Regions from separate parts of the Homo sapiens genome. Here region 2 is linked to region 1. The links are contacts of gene promoters, found by promoter capture Hi-C in human tissues and cell types (Jung and others, 2019). All regions are on one chromosome and are shown on one strand. The core of a region is centred on a gene start or on the middle of the fragment in contact, and the rest is flanking DNA. Distances in the headings are between cores, read along the strand shown. Region 1 holds the start of MEFV (MEFV innate immunity regulator, pyrin). Region 2 overlaps SLX4 (SLX4 structure-specific endonuclease subunit).

Region 1 (4,796 bases), core at 1,385-3,884:
CAATTCTGTCATGGGGTTTTGGTATCAGCTCCGAGGAGTTTTCTGACCAGACGAGATGGGATCACACAGCACCCACAGCGTCACTGCACAGTCTCATCCTTTCTCCATCTGGTAGTGGGAGACTGCCTGGGAGGTGCTGGGTTGCCACCGTCCAGAGTCAGGGACGGGTGCTGGCCCCAGTGATACCCCATTCAACACCCTTCTTCTGGCCCAGCCTAAAAATTCCAAAAATCTGCTGTCTGCACCATCAATGTGCATTTCATCCACTTTTTTTTTTTTTTTTTTTTTTTTTTTTTGAGACAGGGTGTCTTGCTGTGTCACCCAGGCTGGAGAGCAGTGGTGCAATCACAGCTCATTGCAGCCTGAACCTAGGCTCAAGCAATCTTCCCACCTCAGCCTCCTGAGTAGCAGCAGGGACCACCAGTGTGTGCCACCACACCCAGCTAATATTTTTTCTATTTTTTGTAGAGGCAGGGTCTCCTTATGTTGCCCAGGCTAATCTCAAACTCTTGGGCTTAAGTAATCCTCCTGTCTCAGCCTCCCAAGGGCTGGGATTGCAGGTGTGAGCCACTACACCCAGCCCAATTCACCCTTTTTTTAGGGAAGATGTTGGGTTTGGGCTCAGAAAGATCTAGCAAACTGCATGTTTGTTGTCAGCTATGAAAACAATGCAAAAACACCAAATACTCTGTGAAATAGGAAACAGGTGGACCAGCTGGACAGTAAGTTAAATTCAACCAACCAGAACTCATCAAAGCCTTGAATCCCAGGCTGGGCACACACAGAGGAGCTCACACCCAGAGCTGGGTGTTCAGCTAGGCGTCGCAATGTTGTGACTGACCTGTGGAAGTGACCCATCCTGGACCTCAGTGGTCAGCTGGAAATGTGACATCCATGGGTAGTCATTAACAGTAAAATCACAAATTATTGTCATGCAGGAGACGATGTTGTGAAGTGGTTTGACGTTTGGATCTTGGCTCTAGGCAAGTCACTAAGCTACAGATTCTTGGCTGCACAGGGGGATGATAAACGCAGCCCTGCAGGGTGCTGCAGAGATTCTAGGAGGAAGTGTTTATAAAGCTAGTGGTGGCTGGTGCCGAGGAAGTGCTGGTGAAGGGTAAATTGCATTATTAACAAAACTTCTGGCCGGGCGCAGTGGCTCACACCTGTAATCCCAGCACTTTGGGAGGCCAAAGCGAGTGGATCGCTTGAGATCAGGAGTTCAAGACCAGCCTGCGCAACATAGTGAGACCCTGTCTCTATAAAAAATACAAAAATTGGCCAGATGTGGTGGAATGCACCTGTAGTCTCAGCTACTTGGGAGGCTGAGGTTGGAGGGTTGCTCAAGCCCAGGAGGCAGAAGTTGCAGTGAGCCAAGATCCCACTACTGCACTCCAGCCTGAGTGACTGAGCAAGACCCTATCTAAAAATAAAAAAATTAGGGTATGCAACGGTCAGAAGTAGGTAAGTGAGGAGTCAGTTCACCCTACATGTAATTTTTCATTTATTTATTTTTTTTGAGACAAAGTCCCGCTCTGTCGCCCAAGCTGGAGTACAATGGCGCAACCTCGGCTCACTGCAACATCTGCCTCCCATGTTCAAGTGATTCTCCTGCCTCAGCCTCCTGAGTAGCTGGGAGTACAGGTGCGTGCCACCATGCCTGGCTAATTTTTGTATTTTTAGTAGAGATGGGGTTTTACTGTGTTGGCCAGGCTGGTCTTGTACTCCCAACCTGAGGTGATCCACCCACCTCGGCCTCCCAAAGTGCTGGGATTACAGGCGTTAGCCACTGTGCCCTGCCCCCAACATGTAACTTCTGTTAGCTTCAAAGCCACCTCTGGGGCCCTGCACCACATATGAGCTGAAGGACACCCGTGCCTTTTCACCCGTGTAGCTCCAGCATCTTGGCACACTGTCTAGAATGTTCAATGAATGTGCACGGAAGAGCATTCTGGCTCCAGGGAGCGAGGACTGAGTCAGCTCTGGGAACAGATGAGTCAGGCTGGTGGTCCAGGCATTGCTTTTCAAGTCCTTCATGTGGCTGGAAGAACCAGTCAACTGGAACCGGATCAACAGGGGTGATGGCATGGCAAGAGTTATCTCCTGGCAGTGCCCTTCTGGCCTCACTTGCCTTCTTGGGCCAGGAAAGGCAAAGCTCACAGGACTGTATTCAGTGCCCACCCCTTCCCCCGTCCTGTGCCATTGGCTCTGGAAGGTCCCTGAAACCCCGAGTCTGGAGGAGAACAGTTGACCAGCAGGGCGGGCCCTCAGCATAGTCCTCTCTGTTCCCACTCACCCGCTCTGCCAGCCCCAGATCCTGGCAGGAAGGAAGATTGGAGGGGGTGTCTGGAATCCAATCCCAGACCTTCCCTTGCAGACTTGCCCATCTGTCTGTGGTCTAGTGTGGAGGCGAGGTCCAGGGTTTGGGAGGGGTGTGGGGGCACATGTCTGCCAAGGCATGGAGCCCTCCCAGCTGGAAAATCCTCTGAACCTGTAAGAAGAGAACACAGCCGGCATGGACACACCCTTACCCTTAGTCTCAGTTCCCACCAAGACACAGAGCATTTCCTGTGCCTTTTCCGCTATTTCACAACCTGCCTTTTCTTGCTCACCAAGGACAGAGGCTTCTTTTCCTACCAGAAGCCAGACAGCTGGCTCGAGCCTCTCCTGCTCAGCACCATGGCTAAGACCCCTAGTGACCATCTGCTGTCCACCCTGGAGGAGCTGGTGCCCTATGACTTCGAGAAGTTCAAGTTCAAGCTGCAGAACACCAGTGTGCAGAAGGAGCACTCCAGGATCCCCCGGAGCCAGATCCAGAGAGCCAGGCCGGTGAAGATGGCCACTCTGCTGGTCACCTACTATGGGGAAGAGTACGCCGTGCAGCTCACCCTGCAGGTCCTGCGGGCCATCAACCAGCGCCTGCTGGCCGAGGAGCTCCACAGGGCAGCCATTCAGGGTAAGCGGGCCCAGGCCTCCTCCTCATCCAGTGCTGAGTGCTGGCTGCTTTGTGGGAAAGGGGACCAGGAGCTCAGAGCAGCTCACTCTGACCTGGGGATTGGGAGTCTCAGGTCTACCAAAATCCAGATGACTTTAGTTCAGGAACGTCCCTTTCTTCACTCTGGCCTTTGGAACTGGGTTAGTAAACTTCCTTCAGGCTCCTAATGGGTTTTTTAAGAAGCAGGTCAGGGTCACGAAAGGCAGGAGCTGGAACACCTGTTCTTTGAGACTTCTTCACTACATTTATGATTAATACTCATGTCAGACAAACATCTCTAGGTTAGCAAAAAGGGATTGCTATGCAATCATATGAACGGGGTTGGTATAGAATCTTCTCAGTGCTGTTCACCATGTTGGCCAGGCTGGTCTCGAACTCCTGACCTCAAGTGATCCTCCCGCCTCAGCCTCCCAAAGTGCTGGGATTTCAGACATAGGCCACCGTGCCCGGCTTATTTTTATTTTTAAAGCGTATAATCTGGGTTTTGCTGACCTGTGTAAGATCTTATTTGAAACAGTTGTCCTGCTTAAAACGTTTGAAAAGTACTATTTGAGAAATATAGGCTAGGCATGGTGGCTCACACTTATAAATAATCTCAGCACTTTGGGAGGCTAAGGTGGGTGGATTGCTAGAGCTCAGGAGTTTGAGACCAGCTTGGGCAACATGGTGAAACCCTGTCTCTACCAAAAATACAAAAAAATGAGCCAGGCGTGGTAGCACACACCTGTATTTTCAGCTATTGAAAAAACAGAAAACAGGCTGAGGTGAGAGGATTGCTTGAGCCTGGGAGGCAGAGGTTGCAGTGAGCTGAGATCACATCAGGGCAACAGAGCAAGATCCTGTCTCAAAAAATAAAATAAGAGAGAGAGAAATACATAGCAACATCAAGCATGTTCTTACTGAATGGTAATTGACTGCCATTGTCTAGTCTAGGAAGTCCTGAACTTTTGTTTTTGAGATGGAGTCTTGCTCTGTCACTCAGGCTGGAGTGCAGTGGCCCGATCTCAGCTCACTGCAACCTCCACATCCCGGGCTCAAGCGATTCTCATGCCTCAGCCTCCCGAGTAGCTGGGACTACAGGTGCGCACCACCGCGTCTGGCTGAGTTTCTTATTTTTAGTAGGAACGGGGTTTTGCCATGTTGGCCAGGCTGGTCTCGAACTCCTGACCTCAAATGATCCTCCCACCTTGGCCTCTGGAGAAGCTGGGATTACAGGCATGCGCCACCACGCTCAGCTTATTTTTGTATTTTTAGTAGAGACGGGGTTTCACCCTGTTGGTCTTGAACTCCTGATCTCAGGTGATCCTCCCGCCTCGGCCTCCCAGAGTGCCGGGAATACAGGCATGAGCCACCGCGCCCGGCCCGTTGTTTTCCTCAATTTCTAAACTTTAATATCCAAGGGGATTCTCTCTCCTCTGCCCTGAATCTTGGGCCCTAAACGTGGGACAGCTTCATCATTTTGCATCTGGTTGTCCTTCCAGAATATTCCACACAAGAAAACGGCACAGATGATTCCGCAGCGTCCAGCTCCCTGGGGGAGAACAAGCCCAGGAGCCTGAAGACTCCAGACCACCCCGAGGGGAACGAGGGGAACGGCCCTCGGCCGTACGGGGGCGGAGCTGCCAGCCTGCGGTGCAGCCAGCCCGAGGCCGGGAGGGGGCTGTCGAGGAAGCCCCTGAGCAAACGCAGAGAGAAGGCCTCGGAGGGCCTGGACGCGCAGGGCAAGCCTCGGACCCGGAGCCCGGCCCTGCCGGGCGGGAGAAGCCCCGGCCCCTGCAGGGCGCTAGAGGGGGGCCAGGCC
Region 2 (4,628 bases), core at 1,268-3,767, 330 kb before region 1:
AGGGCCTCAGTAGGAAACAGGGAAGGGAACGAAGTCGCACAGAAGTTTTCTGTCATCAGGCCCCAGACACCACCGCCCCAGACACCGTCCTCATGCCTCACTCCCGTCTCTCCAGGAACTTCTGACGGCAGAAGGCAAGGCCACAGAAGCCCTTCCCGTCCCCACCCCGGGGGCCACCCGCACTCCTCTCCGCTGGCTCCACATCCCATCTCAGGGGACCGCGCCCACTTCAGCAGGCGGTTCCTGAAACACTCGCCGCCTGGGCCAAGCTTCCTGAACCAGACCCCAGCGGGTGAAGTGGTGGAAGTCGGAGACAGTGACGATGAGCAGGAGGTGGCCTCCCATCAGGCCAACAGAAGCCCCCCACTGGACAGTGACCCCCCAATTCCAATTGACGACTGCTGCTGGCACATGGAGCCCCTCTCGCCAATTCCCATTGACCACTGGAACCTGGAGCGGACCGGCCCCCTGAGCACCAGCAGCCCCAGCCGCAGGATGAACGAGGCCGCCGACAGCCGTGACTGTCGCTCCCCGGGACTCCTGGACACCACCCCCATCCGAGGAAGCTGCACTACCCAGAGGAAATTGCAAGAGAAGTCCTCGGGCGCGGGCTCCCTGGGGAATAGCAGGCCGAGCTTTCTGAATTCGGCTCTGTGGGACGTTTGGGACGGGGAAGAGCAGAGGCCTCCAGAGACCCCTCCTCCGGCCCAGATGCCAAGCGCTGGTGGAGCTCAGAAGCCCGAAGGGTTAGAGACACCCAGTGAGTAGCCAGGAGAGCTGGGGAAGGGGACTGTCTTTGTTACTATTTTACACTAAGAGGGTGGGAAGATCAGTCATGAGACCCAGGGGCTGCCCTCTGAATGCCTGCTGACCTGAGGCATGACACTTCCGCTGCCTTCCAGACTCCCCTCCACAGTGGAGGAGAGCCGGGCTGGTTCTCATGCTACACTTCTCAGCCAGTAAGTCAGTGTTTCCCAAACTTGCCTGGCTCCAGTGCTCACCTGGGCATGTGTTAAAAATCCACATCTGTGGACCCTTCTCCAGAACACGGAGCCGGCACCTCCAAAGGCCACAACTCATTCAGCAAGTATCGGCATGCCTTAAGATTGGACCAGGGTGGTTCTCCAGAATGTTAACCGTAGATTGACTGCAGGACCCAGCAATTCCACTTTTACCTGTATATCCAAAAGAATTAAAAACAGGGACTCAGACATGCATGTTCATAGAAGCGCTGTTCACAATCGCCAAAAGCTGGAAGCAACCCAAATGCCCGTCAGGAGATGAACAGGGAAACCAAACGTGGTCCATCTAGACCACTAGAAAATGGAATAGTGTTCAGCCACAAAGAGGAGTGAGGCACTGCCACACGCTACCGCGTGGACGACCCAGAAAACATGCTGCCGGGTGAGAGAAGCCAGACATAGAAGGTCATGTACTGTCTGCACTCATGGATATGAAATGTCTAGAATAGGCAAATCCAGAGAAAATGCAGGTTAGTGGTTGGCCTGGGTTGGAGGGAGGGGGAATGGGGAGTGACTGCTTATGGGATACAGGGTGTCCTTTTGGGGTGGTGAAAATGTTTTGCAAATAGATAGAGGTGATGGTTGTACAACATTGTGAATACTTAATGCCACTGAATTATTCCCTTTACGATTTTTTTATGTGAATTTCACCTCAATTAAAAAAAGAATCAGGTGGGACAAGTGTGAGAGGCTGTTAGGCCTGTTCTTCCTGGTCCTCCCAGGTGCAGGGATGCCACCTCCCTGCTCATTTCAGTCCCCGGGGAGAGTCAGAGCCCCAGGTGTCGGCCCCCTCGGTGCTGCTGCTCCCATCCAGGCACCTCCGGGGAGGGCAAGGACAGGCCGGGCTGGGCTGAGCATGACTGGGAGAAAGGCCAGGCTGTGAGTGAGCACCTGCCTGCGGCCTGGGGGCCCATTTCCTCCCAAAATCCAGATGAATGAGGCCACTGATAGTGTCCTCGGCCCTCAGGGGCTTCAGAAACACCTGGAGAGCTTCTTATAGCACGCCCGTGGCCCAGCCTGCCCCAGAGCCTTGCTTCGGGAGGGTGACTAAGAATTTGCATTTCTAACCAGTTCCCAGGCAGTGCTGTGAGAACAGCTGCAGGAGGCTGCACAGCAGATCTGAGGTGGGCTTCAGGACGACGCTGCGGCCACAGGAAGAATCGTGCTTTTCTCAGGAGACAGAGCCTGCCGCTTTCATCGGGGGCTCAAAGGGCTCCATGGTCATAAAAGGCAGAAGAACCAAAGTCTGACTGTTTCCAATGTGTCACCAGGCTGGAGTGCAGTGGGGCTATCTCGGCTCACTGCAACCTCCACCTCTCGGGTTCAAGGGATTCTCCTGCCTCAGCCTCCCGAGTAGCTGGGATTACAGGCACCCAGCACCACGCCCAGCTAATTTTTGTATTTTTAGTAGAGTCGGGTTTCACCATGTTGATCAGGCTGGTCTTGAGCTGCTGACCTCAGGTGATCCGCCCACCTCGGCCTCCCAAAGTGCTGGGATTACAGGCGTGAGCCACCTCGCCCAGCCTATTATTTTTTAAAGTAACAGCTTTATTTAGATATAATTCACATACCATAATATCCACCCTTTTAAAATGGACAGTTCAGTGCTTCTCAGTACATTCACAGTGTTGTACAATTGTCCCCACTCTCTAATTCTAGAACATTTTCATCATCTCAAAAATCCTGTACCCATGAGCAGTCTCTCACCTTCCCCTTCCCCCAGCCCTGGCAACCAAGAACCTTTCTGTCTCTATGGATTTGCCTGTCCTGGACATTTCATATAAACAGAGCCATATATAACTAATATGTGGCCTTTTGTGTCTGTGTCTGGCTTCTTTCAGTTAGCATACAGTTTTCAAGATTCATACATGTTGTAGCATGGATCAGTATTTTATTCCTTTTTATTCTTTTTTTTTTTTTTTGAGACGGAGCCTCTCTCTGTTGCCCAGGCTAGAGTGCAGTGGCACGATCTCGGCTCACTGCAACCTCCACCTCCTGGGTCCAAGCGATTCTCCCGCCTCAGCCTCCCGAGTAGCTGGGATTACAAGCGCCCATCGCCATGCCATGCCCGGCTAATTTTTTTGTATTTTTAGTACAGATGGGGTTTCACCATGTTGGCCAAGCTGGTCTCGAACTCCTAACCTCAAGTGATCCACCCACTTTGGTCTCCCACAGTGCTGGGATTACAAGCCTGAGCCACTGTGCCTGGCCTGTTTTTGAGTCAGGGGTCTTGCTCTGTCACCCAGGCTGAAGTGCAGTGGCGCAATTACAGCTCATTGTAGCCTCGACCTCCCAGGCTCAAGTGATCCTCCCACCTCAACCTCCTGAGTAGCTGGGACTACAGGCAGCTGCCACCATGCCCAGCTAATTTTTTTTTTTTAGTAGAGACTGGGTCTTGCTATGTTGCCCTGGCTTTGGGCATACATTCCTTTGTATGTCTAATACCCCACTGATGGTATGCCACATTTTGCTTATCCATTCATCTACTAGTGGACACACGGGTTGTTTTTAATTTGTGGTTATTAATAATGCCACTTAGGAATATTGATGTGCAAGTTTTCGTGTAGACATGTTTTCCTTCTTCTTGGTTCTGTACTTAGGAGTGGAATTGCTGGGTCATATGGCAACTGTGTTTAGCATTGTGAGGAACTGCGAGACTGTTTTCCAAAGTGACTGCACCATTTTAAATCTCCACCAACACTTGTTATTCTGTTTTTGTTGTTGTTGTTATTGTTTTGAGACAAGGTCTTGCTCTGTCGCCCAGGCTGGAGTGCAGTGGCGTGTTCATGGCTTGCTGCAGCCTCAACCTTCCTGGCTCAGGTGATCCTCCCACCTCAGCCTCCCGAGTAGCTGGAACCAGCCACAAACAGCTGCCCACATTGGTGACTTGGGCCACCACACCCTGCTAACTTTTTTTGTATTTTTTTTTTTTTTTTTTTGTAGAGATAGGGTTCTGCCATTTTGCCCAAACCCTCTGTGTTTTTTGTTATGGCCATCCTAGTGGGCGTGCAGTGGTATCTCACTGTGGTTTTGACTTGCATTTCCCTGATGACTAATGATGTCGGGCACCTTTTCATGTGCTTATTGGCCATTTGTAGATCTTCTCTGGAGAAATGTCTGTTCACATCCTTTGCCCTTTTTTTTTTTTTTTTTTGAGACAGAGTCTTGCTCTGTCGCCCAGGCTGGAGTGCAGTGGTGTGATCTCGGCTCACTGCAAGCTCCGCCTCCCAGGTTCACGCCATTCTCCTGCCTCAGCCTCCCAAGCAGCTGGGACTACAGGCGCCCGCCACCACGCCCAGCTAATTTTTTGTATTTTTAATAGAGACGGGGTTTCACCGTGTTAGCCAGGATGGTCTCGATCTCCTGACCTCGTGATCCGCCCACCTCGGCCTCCCAAAGTGCTGGGATTACAGGCGTGAGCCACCGCGCCCGGCCCCTTTGCCCATTTTTTAACTGGGTTTTTTTAAATTGATGAATTATTTTTAAAAAGCAAAACTGATGTCTAAGCCTGTTTGAAGAGTATCAGTGTGGCCCATTGTCTCAAGTTGTCACTGTGGGTCAGATATTTTTAAGTTTACATGCATAAGTTTTAGTCACGTGCCGGGC

What was found. Contacts are between HindIII fragments. The study calls those that stand out against the background at their distance.
Region 2: a contact is called between a fragment that was not itself captured here and the fragment with the promoter of MEFV in region 1, in 1 of the 25 tissues and cell types used here (stomach).

Annotation. Positions count from the first base shown.
Region 1 is chr16:3,254,471-3,259,266 of GRCh38, reverse strand. MEFV (MEFV innate immunity regulator, pyrin) reads left to right here and starts at 2,634. Exons shown (of 10, transcript NM_000243.3): 1 at 2,634-2,956; 2 at 4,477-4,796. The coding sequence starts at 2,680. The HindIII fragment of the contact is 7,133 bases long and covers 1-3,848 here.
Region 2 is chr16:3,585,134-3,589,761 of GRCh38, reverse strand. It overlaps SLX4 (SLX4 structure-specific endonuclease subunit), which reads left to right. Exons shown (of 15, transcript NM_032444.4): 12 at 1-760. Among named protein-coding and RNA genes, the nearest start is that of NLRC3, 10 kb to the right of the region's middle. RefSeq lists enhancers at 1-265, 2,285-2,354. The HindIII fragment of the contact is 6,051 bases long and covers 1-4,628 here.